2 separate regions of the Homo sapiens genome follow, and region 2 is linked to region 1. The links are contacts of gene promoters, found by promoter capture Hi-C in human tissues and cell types (Jung and others, 2019). All regions are on one chromosome and are shown on one strand. The core of a region is centred on a gene start or on the middle of the fragment in contact, and the rest is flanking DNA. Distances in the headings are between cores, read along the strand shown.

The links. Contacts are between HindIII fragments. The study calls those that stand out against the background at their distance.
Region 2: a fragment that was not itself captured here is called in contact with the fragment with the promoter of SLC9A3 in region 1 in 1 of the 25 tissues and cell types used here (lymphoblastoid cells).

What each region holds. Positions count from the first base shown.
Region 1 is chr5:519,706-526,351 of GRCh38, reverse strand. SLC9A3 (solute carrier family 9 member A3) reads left to right here and starts at 1,903. Exons shown (of 17, transcript NM_004174.4): 1 at 1,903-2,240. The coding sequence starts at 2,030. LOC107986395 (a long non-coding RNA gene) reads right to left here and starts at 1,694. Exons shown (of 2, transcript XR_001742543.1): 1 at 1,389-1,694. RefSeq lists an enhancer at 1-336. The HindIII fragment of the contact is 12,710 bases long and covers 1-6,646 here.
Region 2 is chr5:960,998-967,799 of GRCh38, reverse strand. It overlaps LOC124900931 (a long non-coding RNA gene), which reads left to right and starts at 3,639. Exons shown (of 2, transcript XR_007058676.1): 1 at 3,639-3,701; 2 at 5,074-5,482. RefSeq lists enhancers at 1,963-2,464, 4,051-4,210. The HindIII fragment of the contact is 5,091 bases long and covers 149-5,239 here.

The sequences.
Region 1 (6,646 bases), core at 654-3,153:
AACCATAAGGAAAGAGCAGGGAAGCTCCGGACTGGAGGGAATCCTGTTCTTGTCCTGCTGGCTTTTTCTCTGGGACAAGAGGCTGGGAGTGGAGTGGGGGACAGAGACAGGTGGGGCAGGGACACAGGCCAAGAGCGACTCCGATGCTCCCACCTCGCAAGACCATACTAGTGGCCAGTCACACACTTCCACTCCCCCGGTGCCCTGTCCAGACCCTGCAGTGGCCCAGGCCAGGGCTGCCCTCCCTCCACGCCACTCAGCAGCCGAGTCACCAGGCGAGCACCATCTGAATGCACCTTCCCTGTGCTACACGGGCCACTTCCATTAGCATGAAACTGGGGCCCTTGCAGGGTGAAGTCATTGAACTCAGCACTGTCCTCCTCAGGCCTCCGCAGCCCCCACTCAGATGTCAGAAGACACATCCATCCTCCATCTGCACCCACCCCACCGCCCACCTGCCCTTTGTCCACCTATCTGTCCTTCCATCCATCTATCATCCATCCGCTCAGCCACTATCTTGCGAGTGCTATTGTGTGCCCAGCTATCTTCCAAGCTCCTGGGATGTATGCATGAGCCCCTTGCTCGTGGAGCAGACATTCCCAGGGTGAGGGCAGACAGCTCAAGGTCAAAGCCAGCAGCCCCCAGGGCTGGGAGGTGAGCTGATTCCCGGAGCCAACCGAGTAAGCAGGGGAGGCGGGAGCTTAGCTGCCACAGTTGTGAGCTGAGTGGGTATCGGGTGGGACCAGAAGGTGGCATTGGAGCCAAGCCCCTGGGGAGCTGAGGAAGGGAGCACACAAGAGCCGTCCAAACAGAGGGAGCAGGGCGTGCAAAGGCCCCGAGAGGCGCCGATTGCTGGTGTGGGCCGTGGAGTGCATGGGGGTGGGGGTCAGGCAGTGGCTGGGGTCTGAGCTCCCGGGAGACGTTGAGCCTTTCCTCTGAGAGGGAGGGTCCCAATAGGAGGGACTGAAGGGGCAGGTAGAGGGCCGAGCAGGAGCCTTTGCAGGTGGCTGCAGGCTCCCAGAAGCCGCTGGTTTTGTGCACATTTTGAAAGTAGAGCAGATATGCTAAGAGCTTGGAAACCTTGTGAGCGAAAGAAGTCCACCTGCGTCCCAGGTCTGGGGCTGGAAGGCTGCAGGGTGGGCTTGGAGGAAAACAGGGGTGTGGTTTGCACAGTGGAGCCTGAGATGCTTAAGAGAGCCAGTGCTGCCGGAGCGGGCTGTGGGCAGAGGCCCCGCATCCGTGTGAAGCCCTGGGGGTATCGAATTGTTTTGGGCGGAGGTCTAAAGGCAGGGGATGGGGCAGGGGAGACCACGGGGGCCCCTGGGCTCCCATCTCAGAGCCTGGGGTGGGGGATGCTGGCTGGCGATGGGAGGGGCAGAGAGACTTACCAGCGCACCACGCAAGGCCTGGGCGCCCCCGAGTTCTGGTAAGTGGCCGGTCCGGCTGTGGAATGCAGGTTCCTGCTGAAGACAATAGCGAGGGGCTGTGTGAAGACACACCTGGGGCCCCTGTGCACCCTTGGGCCGCCCTGTGGGGTCTGCGCAGCCCCAGGCCCTGCGTTTATGAAGGAGGGTTGGGGCGAGCGCACCCACAGCTGCCCGGGCATCCCAGGAGCTGCGCGGAACCGCCTGTCCCGCTGCCCCGCGCTGTGCTCCCCACGCCCCAGGAAGGCGGCCGCGCAGTCCCGGGCTCGCTCTTGCCGCGACCTCCCGGACCTCCAGGCCGCGGGCTCCGGGGGAGGGTGGGCACCAGGGAGCGCGGGGTGGGCGTGCGCGGGCGGGGCGGGCGTGCCGGGAGCTGCGGCGGTGTCTGCGCTCGCGAGTGCGCGGCGGGGGCGGGCAGGCTCCGCCCCGGGGCGGGAGGGGGCCGCGGGATTAAAGGCCACCCCGGCGGGCGGGGATCGGACTGTAGCCGGTACCGGCACCGGAGCGCGCCGGGTCCTCGCCGGGTCCCAGCCCCGCGCGTCGGCCCAGCCCAGCCGGGACCCCCCGCGACATGCGCGTCCCAGCCCTGCGCTGAGCAGGCGGCAATGTGGGGACTCGGGGCCCGGGGCCCCGACCGGGGGCTGCTGCTGGCGCTGGCGCTGGGCGGGCTGGCGCGGGCCGGGGGCGTCGAGGTGGAGCCCGGCGGCGCGCACGGCGAGAGCGGGGGCTTCCAGGTGGTCACCTTCGAGTGGGCCCACGTGCAGGATCCCTACGTCATCGCGCTCTGGATCCTCGTGGCCAGCTTGGCCAAGATCGGTAAGTGGCCCCGGGGTCTCCGGATCTGCCCGCGGGGTGTGCGGCCGCCTCTGCTGGGCCTGGGGGCTTCGTTGTGGCCGCGCGCATCAGGTCGGAGCCGCGCGGCGGCCGCCCGGGAGAGTCCGGCTCTCGGGTCCAGCAGAGCGAGACTCGGGAGCGACTCTGGCCGCGCTAAGCCGCCCCTGCGGGTCCCGAGGTCTCCCCTCCCCGGCGGGGGCACAGCCTCGGAGCCCCGGACTCCCGGCTCCCGGGTCCCTGTGGGGTCTCCGCCCCGCCTCCGCTCCGAGCCCCGCAGACTGCAGGCTGCTCGCGCCCAGGGAGTCCCCGGGGCCGGGTTTCCTTCGGGGTTCTCAGGCTTTTTAGAGAAACGTCCTTGGAGTGATGGCGTTTTTTCGTGAGTTACAAGGGCAGAAAAGAAAAGCGGTGCTACCCGCATGAAACCCAGCAGAATCCTCCCTACAGGCGCAGCGTTCCCATTGGCGGGCCTCCTTTTTTTTTTTTTTTTTTAGAAAATCCCGGTCGGTCAGATTTCTCTTCTTCTTAACCGGCGCCAATGAACCAGTAATGTGGGCACGGCAGGTAGCTCCTGGCAAGGTGACAGGAAGGTCAGCTTCCTGAGGAGCTCGTGGGGATCAAAGTTTCATGTGTTGGTCCACAGGGTAGGGTCTCTCCAGGGGTGGCAGGGAGGTGGTCACTCGTGTGGAGGGGGGATTAGGGGGCCCGAGTGGGGCCAGGAGAAGCAAGATCAGAGCAGCAGGCGCCGCGGCAGGTTTCCAGAGCAGCTTTGGACTGGGGCGAGAGGAGGTTTCGATGCTGGGGCCGAGGAGGGGCGCCCACGCAGGACAGGGGAGGGACAGGCTCCGGGGAGAACAGCTGAGAGGACCTTGGCCTTGGTGGAACCTGGTACGCCCAGCAGGCTTGATTGGAGAAGGCGCCTTTTCCTTCAGTGACGCCTGCCGCCTGCCCTATTTATGCCAGGGTCTCCCCTCCCCTTCAGGCCCCTTGTGTGTTTGCTTTCTGTCTCATAAGGGCTCTTCTGAGCCCTCCCGCCTCCTCCCTTCTCCGCAGCCTCCTCCTCGCCCTGGTGTCTTTCAGCTCCCCGCCGGGCTGCCTGCTCTCCAGGCTCAGGCTGTCCTCCCTGGGCTTTCCACTGGGGGCTTGGGATGCTGGCCGGGGGGGAGTCTCTGAGGCTGGCTGCCTCCTACAGTTGATTTCCTTGAGAAGGGCCCCTGGGGCATCAGGGAGGTCCAGACTCAACCTGGGCTCTGCGGCCGCCCAGTCCTAAAGCTCACCCTGCTTTCCTCTGACGGGAGTGCCCCCCTGGTGTAAACTGAAAAGGTAATTTCTTTTTTTTTCTTTTTTTTTTTTTTTTGAGATAGAATTTTGCTCTTGTTGCCCAGGCTGGAGTGCAATGACGCGATCTCGGCTCACTGCAACCTCCACATCCTGCCTCAGCCTCCCGAGTAGCTGGGATTACAGGCATGAGCCACCACGCCCAGCTAATTTGTATTTTTAGTACAGACAGGGTTTCTCCATGTTGGTCAGGCTGGTCTTGAACTCCAGACCTCAGGTGATCCACCCGCCTCGGCCTCCCAAAGTGCTGGGATGACAGGCGTGAGCCACCGCGCCCGGCCGTGAATATCTAATTTCTGTACAAGCTGGGGCCTCTCCCAGTTTAGCCCAGTGTACAGAGTCAGAATCTGGCATCTGAAGGTCCAATGACAGCCGCCAGGCACCAGCCAGCCCCGCCTGGGAGCCGGCAGATAAGGCACACTGACCAGGGCTTTGCCTGGCCTCAGAGTTTGTTATTCACAGGGAAAAGCCTTCAGGTCTCCCAAACACTTGGACTGGTTCTGGGAAGACGTCCTTGAGGGCGGGGAGGCTGCCGGCTCCAGCAGCAACTCCCCGGGGCAGGGCGGTCCTTTACAAAGGCCCACCCTGATAGCACTCAGCGGCTGTCTTTGTCTCGGATTGTTGGCTCCACCTGGGAAGGCGAGCCTTACCCTGTGCAGCTGTGGGAGCTCATCGCGGTATCCCACAGGCGCAGACCCTCTCCAGACCTGCCCTTTACGCTCCCTGTCGTCCCCTCAACCCACTGTGCACTCTGCAGCCCCGGCAGTGACAGCTGAGGTCTGCTCTGGGTCTGCCCGGATTGGCCCCCAGGGTGTCCCACCCTCCATCCCCTCTCTGCCAGCCACACCTCTTGAACACAGCCCCCAGCCCTCCCTGTGTGCTTCCTCCCCCAACCCCTTCCCTGTGAACTCTGGACTTCTCAGATTCCACTGGCCCAGACCGTCCTCCTTGTGCAGCCAGCCTCAGGTGCACGACCTGTGTTCCCAGAGGACCCTCAGGTCCAGGCCTTCACAGACACCGGGGCCCAAGCCTGCACCACAGCGGGAACTTCTCCAGTTTCACCCAGCCTCCTCCACATGCCCACAGCCCCCGGACTGGGGTCTGAACCTACTAAGCTGCTTGGCACATTTTGTTGTTTAAAATGGTCAGGGGTTGGCCACACTCTTTCAGTCTCAAGTTACACGAACAGAAATGTCTCTTCCAGCAGAAAAGAGCTGCCATTCCTGTTGCTTTTCCAAACATTTGTTGAATTTCTCACACATCCTGAGAGTTTCTAACTCACAGCCCCAGCCTTCTTCAAGCCATTTGTAACCTGGTTGGGGAAATAAGAGTCCGGGTACCCTGAAACCCACAGCAATGTTGATCCCAGGAGATTTCTACTCCAGGCAGCTTGGGACAGAGGATGGCCAGAGGGCCAGAGCTGCCTCAAGCAAACACTGGGGCTGGGGCCTCAGCAGGTGGCCCAGGAGCCTGGGCAAGGAACAGGTGCTGCTGTTGGCCCACCAGCCTCAGGCCGCGTGTCTGGCTCCGGCAAGGGCTCCCCACAAGCCCCCTATTTGTGTGCACTGGGGTTCCCCTGCCTTTTACAGCATCTTTTTAAAATGCAGAAGGGGAGGCAAGGGCCGAGGCCACGGAGCCACTCCACAGCGCAGACCTCCCAGACTGAGAGGACGAGGAAGTCTTTAGCAGTGGAGGCGGCAGGGCCTAGTGTCTGCCTCAGGCAGGGTGAGGGGGCTTCCTCCTGTGCCCCTTGGGGGCCCCCAGCCTGCAGCCACCCGCACCAGGGCCACTCTAGGCCTTAGGTGCCCACCAGAATCCCCGCCTCACCCTGCACCGTCCGTGTTGGGAACCCTGGGCCAGGCTTTCCTTCCTTCCTGGGCTTCCTCTGGGGGCTGAGGCTGTGCCTTGCAGAGACTGCCAGGCCTGGCAGCACTGGGTGGGGGCCCTGGGGTGGGATCCAGGCAGTGGCAGGTGTCAGGACTGCAAGCAATGGGCCCCTGGAAGGAGAGGGAGGCGGGGGTGTCAGAAGCCAGAGGAGGAGGCCTAGGGTGGGTCCCTGGGGAGGCAGAGGGAGGCCCGAGCAACTCAGCTACAGGCCTTGGAGGACTTTGGTCCCCACCTAGCGTCGTGGTGAGGAGTGGATGTGGTCAGATCTGAGTTCTCAGACGACTGCCTGGCCATGGGGCAGAGAATGGCACCGGGGAGATTCCGGGAGGATGGTGGGGAGCTTCCCTTGGGCATCAGGGCGGTGGACAGCAGGGCCTCCTTGAAGCAGGAGTGGGGATGTCACAGGGTCATCAGTGACACAGCAGGGGCCAGACCTCCTGGCCCCATCCTGTTCTCAACCCTTCGGGGGGCTCTGCTGCGCTGACCTCGCCCTGCAGCTCTGAGCCACACATGAGCGACAGGACCCGACCAAAAGGGAACTGGGGGAGTTACAATTTTGAGATGTCGGAAACCGGGGAGGGGCTGGGGCCGGGAGTGGATTCTAGGCCCAGCTGGGTCTATTTGTCCCCAGGCGTCTGGCCGTGGGTACCCCTTGGGTCGTGGACGCACAGGAGGTGTGGGAGCTGACATCCCATGGGGCCTGAACTCCAGAGCTGGGCAGCGCTGGCTCAGGGAGGTGGCGCCTTGAGGGTTAGGACCTGAGCAGCGGCAGTGACTGCCCACGGGGAAACCAGGACAGTGGGGCTGGGTGGGGGCGGTGGGGGCAGGCTCTCGAAGTGGAGCTTGTGTTGCTGAGGGATGTGATGGCGGAGGCCCAGGCCGCCCCACATCTTGGTGAACCCTGGCTGGAAGGGCAGGCAGGAGCGAGACGGGTATCTGGAGTCTGCAGTGCCTCGCGCAGCCGTAGGAGGGTCAGGAGGACGCTAGGGCACAGGGTCAGGAGTGCAGCCCCCTGCTCTGAGCGGCGCAGCCCCCCCACCCCCCTCTGAGCGGCGTTACCCCCACTGTGGGAGTGTGGGAATGCTTTTCTGCAGGAGCTTCAGCCTTGGGGTTCCAGCACCTCCTCCTTAACTGGACAGGGTCAAGACCCAGATCCCTGAGCGCCA
Region 2 (6,802 bases), core at 1,445-3,944, 440 kb before region 1:
TCTATGGTCAATTTATCTCATTTTATCGACAGGTGGGTATTTTTTCGAAGTCTGTTCTTTCTTTCTTGTAAACTTAGAAGTTTGTTTTAAATGTTTGCTTTTGTTTTGCTTTGCGTCGTTCAGCATTTCTCATTGCCTCTGGGTGTCTCTCCGTTTTTCATGTGTCACAGCGATGTACACACAGGAAAACACCAAGAGGCATAGCCCCTGCTGTAAGTTAGATACGTGTTCATTTACATTTAAATTATTTCTTACAAGGAGGAAGTGTCGTACTCAACATCCATCTTTTGAGTATTTTGAATAATTCCTCCTTCATTCATTCCTTTATTTACCCATCAATAAATAATTATTAATAATTATAGGCTAATTTGCTATTCACATTTCTCTTTGCTCAGCGACACCCCAGCAGCAATGAGCACAGTTAGTGCCCTGACCTTGGTCTCTAAAGCTCATTCTCCAGTAAAAAGAGCAGGGTTCCTTGGAGAAATGATGGATTCCAGGGCTGGGGGAAAAACCGGGGCAGCCTGGGGTTATGCTGGAAAGCGAGAAAGTGCTCCCGAAGGATGGGAGGGTCCCAAGGGCCCGCCTGGAAAAGCCCAGTGGCCAGAGCTGGGTAAATTTTAGCAACTAAGTAAATAATGACAGTGTGGGATGATCATCCAAAGCATAAATATGCACAAGTCCACATGAAGGCACACGAGTGATTGAATAAATCAGTGAGGGGAGGGCGGTCCTTCCTTCAGAGGAATTCCAGCAGAGTAGTGAGGAAACAAATCATCTCAGAACACCACAGTAGTAATTGTTGCAGACAAAACCCACCAACCCATGCTAAAATTAGCAGAAAAGACTTTGAGGAGAAATAGGATACTCTTGTAGTCTCAAAGTATCTTCCCTGAGAGGCCAAGGCAGGTAGATCATCTGAGCTCAGGAGTTTGAGAGAAGCTTGGGCAACACGGTGAAATCCTGTCTCTAAAAAAATACAAAAATTACCTGGGCGCAGTGGCACACACCTGTAGTCCCAGCTACTTGGGAGGCTGAGCGAGTGGATTGCTTGAGCCCGGGAGGTAGAGGTTGCCGTGAGCTAAAATTGCACGACCGCACTCCAGCCTGAGGGACAGAGAGAGACCCCATCTCAAAATAAGTAAATACAAATAAATAAATTACAAATGAAGAATAGTAACGTTACAGTGGGGGAAGCCAGCAGATCCCACCAGAACCAGGTGACCAGGGCCAAAACAACCCATAATGAGGCAAAGCATAGGGCCCGTGAGTCACTACTGCGGACGCTGAGCAGGGTATGGGGCTTCTGCCAGTTTCTTGGCACAGACACATAACTTCGATCCAGACATGATAAAATAGCAAACTCAAACTGAGGGCTGTTCTTCAAAACACCCAGCCAGTGCTCTTCCAAGTGGCAAGGCCATGGGAGGCAAGGAAACACGGGGCCTGCCGTGGGCTGGAGCCTACAGCGAGATGACACCTGCGTGCTCATGGAACTCAGTGTTGTTTCTAAAGCAGGAGGTGGATGTTACCAGAAACTGGAGGAATCTGAATCAAGCTACTGTGTAGTTAATTGCCCCGTGTTAATTCTTAGCCTCAATCCTTGTGGTCAAGGTCGGGTATGCAAGGTGCTGACACGGGAGGAAGCTGCCTGAAGGGGGCGGGGACTCCTGGACGATCTTGGCAACTCTTCCATAAGTCTAACGTTATTTCAGAAAAAAAAGTGTAGTGACATAGCTTAACAAAAAATAAGTGTAAAAAAGCTGAAAAGCAACAGTTAATCCTACGTGAGAGACAACGATGGTTGACTTTCTATACTTGGTGTTTCCCCAAGAAAGAAGCCCCTGGATGCCAGGGTCCCTCCCACTCTACACGTCAGCACGAGGCCGCGGTTCGCTCCCATCATCCGGTTCTAGATGTCAGCACGAGGCCGCGGCTCGCACCTGTCATCTGGGAGTTTCTCCCTCCCCTCCTGCCCACAGGACAACTTCTACTTCTCCTTTGGAATTTCTGAACACAGGAGGCCCTTCTCGGAAGCTCAGCTCTGCCTTCGCCCGCCAGGGCTGTTTCTCCCCTCGAGCCTCTGTCTCCACACCTGTGAAACGGGACGATAAGGGCCCCTTCATGGTGCGGAGGGAGGGCTAAGTTCATAAACGCGTGCAAACGAGGTGAGGACTGGCCGGCACGTAGAGACCCCGTGATGGCTGTCGGCCACCAAACAGACATTCTCCGTGCTCTTCATGCTCTTGCTTATGAGGAGAGATGCTGTGAAGATAAGTTTAAAAACGGCCATGCCATGACAGTTCACAAATAATATTATTCCCTCTGCGAATGCCCTTACCTTCTCTGATGACACTTGTTTCCTATCAACATCGATTTCTGTTGGCTTTCATGCCACCCTCTCTGAATGAGAATTGGGAAGACTCCAATGGCTGTTTTTAACCCCATATTTTTCTGTTCTGTAAACTTCTGTTCATTGCCAGGCTTTGTATCTTCCTTCTTTTAAAAGCGAAAGTGTCCTTTCTCTTCTTGTTTGGAACCTAGAATTGTGTATCGATGCATTTTTGGTGATTTCCCAATAACTAGCTGTGATCCTGCTCCACAGAGCCCTAATGCTTGAGCTCAAACTGTCCGAACCCACACTGCACTCCTTGGAGAAAATGAATGCAGCCTGAATTCTGCTGCTGAGAGTGCCTGGCCGTCCTGGTGGTCACTGACTCACTGGGGTCTGGCCGTCCTGGCAGCTCCTCAGGTCACCGGACTCTGGGGAGGCACCGTGCTGGTTCTGCCTGTGCCTGGTGGGACCCCCTGGTTCCCGGCACTGTCTGGGCCTCGTTCTGAGAGATGACTCCTTCTCACCATTGGTCACCAGACCTGGGCCCTCGGCCACTCGTGGCGTGGCTGAGATTTCAGGTCTCAGAGGACTGTCACCCCCTTCCTCCTATTCAATTTCTGCATGAAGTCTCTAAATCAATAACAGAGAAGGGGAGAGGAAAAAGGAAAGAAAAACTCCCACCTAATGGCCATTTTCAGAGCAGCCGCAGAACCATGTGACACAGCTGACCGAGGCAGCATTGCAGATACATTTGTGTGCCTGCAGATCTCAGGTACACGGACCCGTCTCCATGCTCAGGGGGCCTCTAAAGGGGGTGCAGGCTTTGGGGGCAGAGCAGAGGGGTGTAGGACTCTGGGGAGGCCACGACCACTGAGGGAAGGACCTTGCTATCTCACAAGGCCGAATCCTCCCCAAGGTGGCTGCCGTCTCCCTGGACCCTGCGTTCTGCACCCCCGGGAGGTAGGGAGTTGGATCTCGTACCAACGATGAATGCGTGGACACGTGTGGATGCCGTCCGCTTCCCAGAGTCCCCAGCCGGGCTCCCCAGGGCTCTGCGGGACCCTCTTCCATGCACCTGTGCTGTTTGCTCTCAGGTGGCTGCAAGCAAGTCCCTTTTCTCAGCCAGGCAGGAGGGAGTGGAGGAAGGGCCTGTGTGTCTCCTCAGTTTCAAAGAAACTCCCACGGCAGAGCGTGCTCTTGAACTAAAGCTTGAATGAATCAGAAACATCTGGGCTGTTTTTTCTGTGCTTAAGATACAGGAAACAGACCCATCCAAAGCCGTTTGGGGTTTTATCAAGGGGTCATTTAAGATGCAGAGCAACTTGAAATCGCCCATCTGTTGGAGAGCCGTGCGTGCTGACAGAGGGTAAGAAACTACAGCCCGCGCAGCTGCGGTCTTCATGTGGTCGCTGCACGCAAGGGTTTGCCGTTATCTGTTGCTTCTGAAGGCAAGGGTGAGGGGAGCGGAACTGGGTGTTGCCTGGTTCTGCCGTCAGACCAGGCACTGGGGAGGGAGTCCTGTGGGGAGGTGGGGCCAGGCCTTGTCTCTGTGACAGTGAACGTCCCTGTCCATGTTGGTGTTTCTCAGACAAGCCACCTCCTTCCACCCCCACGGTGGTGCAAGGGGAGGCTTTAGTCCAGGATAACAAATTCTGAACCAGCTGCTGCGTCTGGAGCCCCTGAGGGCTTATGCACTGGTGACCAGGGAGTTTCCTGGCTTATCACATCCGAGGCCGACTTTCGGGCTACAGAGGGGCGTGTGAGCCCCTGGAGTAGACAGAGGAACTGCTTCTCTGCCAGGCGCTGTGTTGAGATGAGAGGGAGGGCAGGTCCTTCGGCTTCTGAAACATGAAACAACCCCACACCTAGGGCAGGGCGTGCAATGCCACCATGGCCTGGAAGACCCAAGAGTGATGAGTGCTGAGCACAGGCCAGGCCCGGGGCTGTCACGGGCAGAGCCACTGGCCCGGCGTGCAGGTGGGAAGGAGGTCTCGGTAACTAAGCATTCGCATGATTCTGTCCTCTGAGGACTGGGGCAGGTGCTTCCTCTACCTCCCAGCAGCCTCCCTAATTCCAGAAGAATAAGAACAGGGGAGAGGAAGCCAGTGCAAGGGCTCCCACCTGCTCCCTCCAAGCCAGAGGTGCTGCCTCGGTTCTTCACTTCCAGCCAGGCCATGCCTAGCAGGCCTTCGTCCAGTCCACGCGTGGCAGCGCTTGGCCTGCCTCAGGCCTGTGTCCTCAGGCATTGTTCCCTCCTGTGTCTGCCCTTGTCTGGGGAGTATTTTCTGTCCTCGCTTCAAGTCCCTGAGAGTCTGCCTGGCACCCTGACCCATTCTGCCAGCCCAGCCAGTCCATACCAGGGAAGCTCCAAGGGTGGGCCTGGGTGGGCCGTGCCCTGGAGGAACACTTCTTGTGGCCCAGATGAACGCCGTGGGTGTGGGGGCCATGTGGACGGTGGTGGGTGAGGCCGGGGGTCCCCACAGCGAGGGCTTGTGGGTCTTGGTGCTGCTTCCATGTGGAGGGGAACTGAGGTCTAAGGTACAGCCCAGGTCCCAGGCCGGGTCACCCCCGTCCACCCTGCCTGTCTTCCGTGTGCTTGGGGAAGTGGAGGCAGCCCTGCCGAGGCCCCACGTCCTCTGTCACCTTTGCAGACTTTGGCACCCCGTGATGCTACCGTCCTGAGTGCCCCGGGGCCTGGCTGGTGTAAGCGTCTTCCTGAATTCCCTCTTTCATTCAAGCTCTAGAATTGGGCGCCACTCTGTGCCAGGCGGCTGGGGCTAGACCCCGCTCCCCGGCTGATGCTGTCCTGCCCCAGGGATGCCTGGCCAGGCTCTTGCTGTGTCCACCACGCTCCATCCACACCCCTCCATCACATTTCACCAGGGGCCCGGGCCAGAGACGCATCCGACATCCCATCTGGGAACAACGGCCTCAAAGAATGGGGAGCAGCGAGGGCCGCCAGACACTGAGTCCTTCTGGATCTTTCTGGCCAGGCTCCTTCCCTGGCATCTGGGCTCGGTGGGGGTGGTCTGCCCCCTCATTCCCGCAGACCCTGGCCCCTGGCAGGGCCCCCAGTCTCCACCTGCCCTGTCTGTTTCCTCCCCAGTGTAACTATGCTGTAGAAATATATTTTGGCCACACCCTGCATGAAGGTTCCAGTCTCTGTGTCTGTGGGAAGGGCTAATCTGCGGCAAGAAGTGGTCCCTGGGATGGAAAGATCCTGACACAACGGAGGTTTGTGTCCTGCTCATGCAACGGCTCTGCCTGGTGAGCCTGGCTTCCTGGCACTCACGCCCTTGCGGTTTCTTCCACGTAGTCCCAGGTGAGTCTGTGCGGCCGACAGCATGCGGCAGAGTGCAGATGGGTCACTTCCGAAACTGGGCTGGACATGCCAGGTCTCCCTCCTGGTTGCTCTGTCTCCTGGGTCACGGGCTTGGGTGAAGCCAGCAGCCATGCCGTGGGAACTCAGGCGACGCGAGAACAGAGCGATCTCCCGAGGTGCACGGGACTCCAGACAACAGCCCGCAAGGACCAAAGCCTGCCAGCAGCTGTGCAGGACCCTCGAAAAGTCTCCTGGGGCCAATAGAGCCCTCACACGGCAGCAGACTCTGGGGGCCTTGGGAGGAGTGGCTGCATTTTGCTGGGAGAATCACAGAATCTCTGGGGCCTGAGGGCCCGGGACGGCCCAGAGACAAGGAGGTACTCAAAGCTGTGTGTCGTCCTCCCATGCCGGGCCAGGTGTGTCCATGTGACCAGAGCACAAGTGGATGCCACTCCTGAGTCCAGGGCCTGAAGGACCCTGTGGCTTCCCTCTGGGTCACTCTGTCTGCCTTGGGTCACTCGTCCTGAAGGAAGCCAGCCACTGCGTGCGGGGCCCTGCGTGGAGAGGCCCTCATGGTGAGGAGACGTCCGGCCCACAGCCACGAGGAGCCGCGACCTGCCAGCACTGGGGGTGAGCTTGGACCTGCCCCTCCAGCCCTGTGGAGGCTTCAGAGCCATGGCCTGGGACAGCTGCTCAGCTGAGCCAGACCCACCCAGCCAAGCCCTTCAGAACCCCGTTGAGTTTGGGGGTCATTTTTCTGCGGCAGTGTGGACCACCAGGAAGGACATCCTTCACGCAGACCCGCCGTGGCAGAGGCTTCACGGTCTCTGGGGCTGTTGTCTCCCCACCAGCTGGCCCACAGGTCCCAGAGGGACACGCAGGAAGACTCTTTCGCCCGTCGGGAGTGGCTCACCTCCCGTCCCCTGGATTCTCTGGAAGGACAGTGGCCTCATGGCCACGCCCGTGTGTGAAGGCTGCTGAGGAGAGCAGCCTGGCTGGGTTCCAGAGGACGAAGCAGGTCAGGAAAGAGACGGAGAAGGGGGAGCAGCTTGGCAAGTGGTCCCACGGTGGGCCCCCAGGGATCTCCCTGGAAGCTGTGGCAGCTGTGCTGCCGTGGAGGGCGCCTTGTCCTCACCAGATCCTGT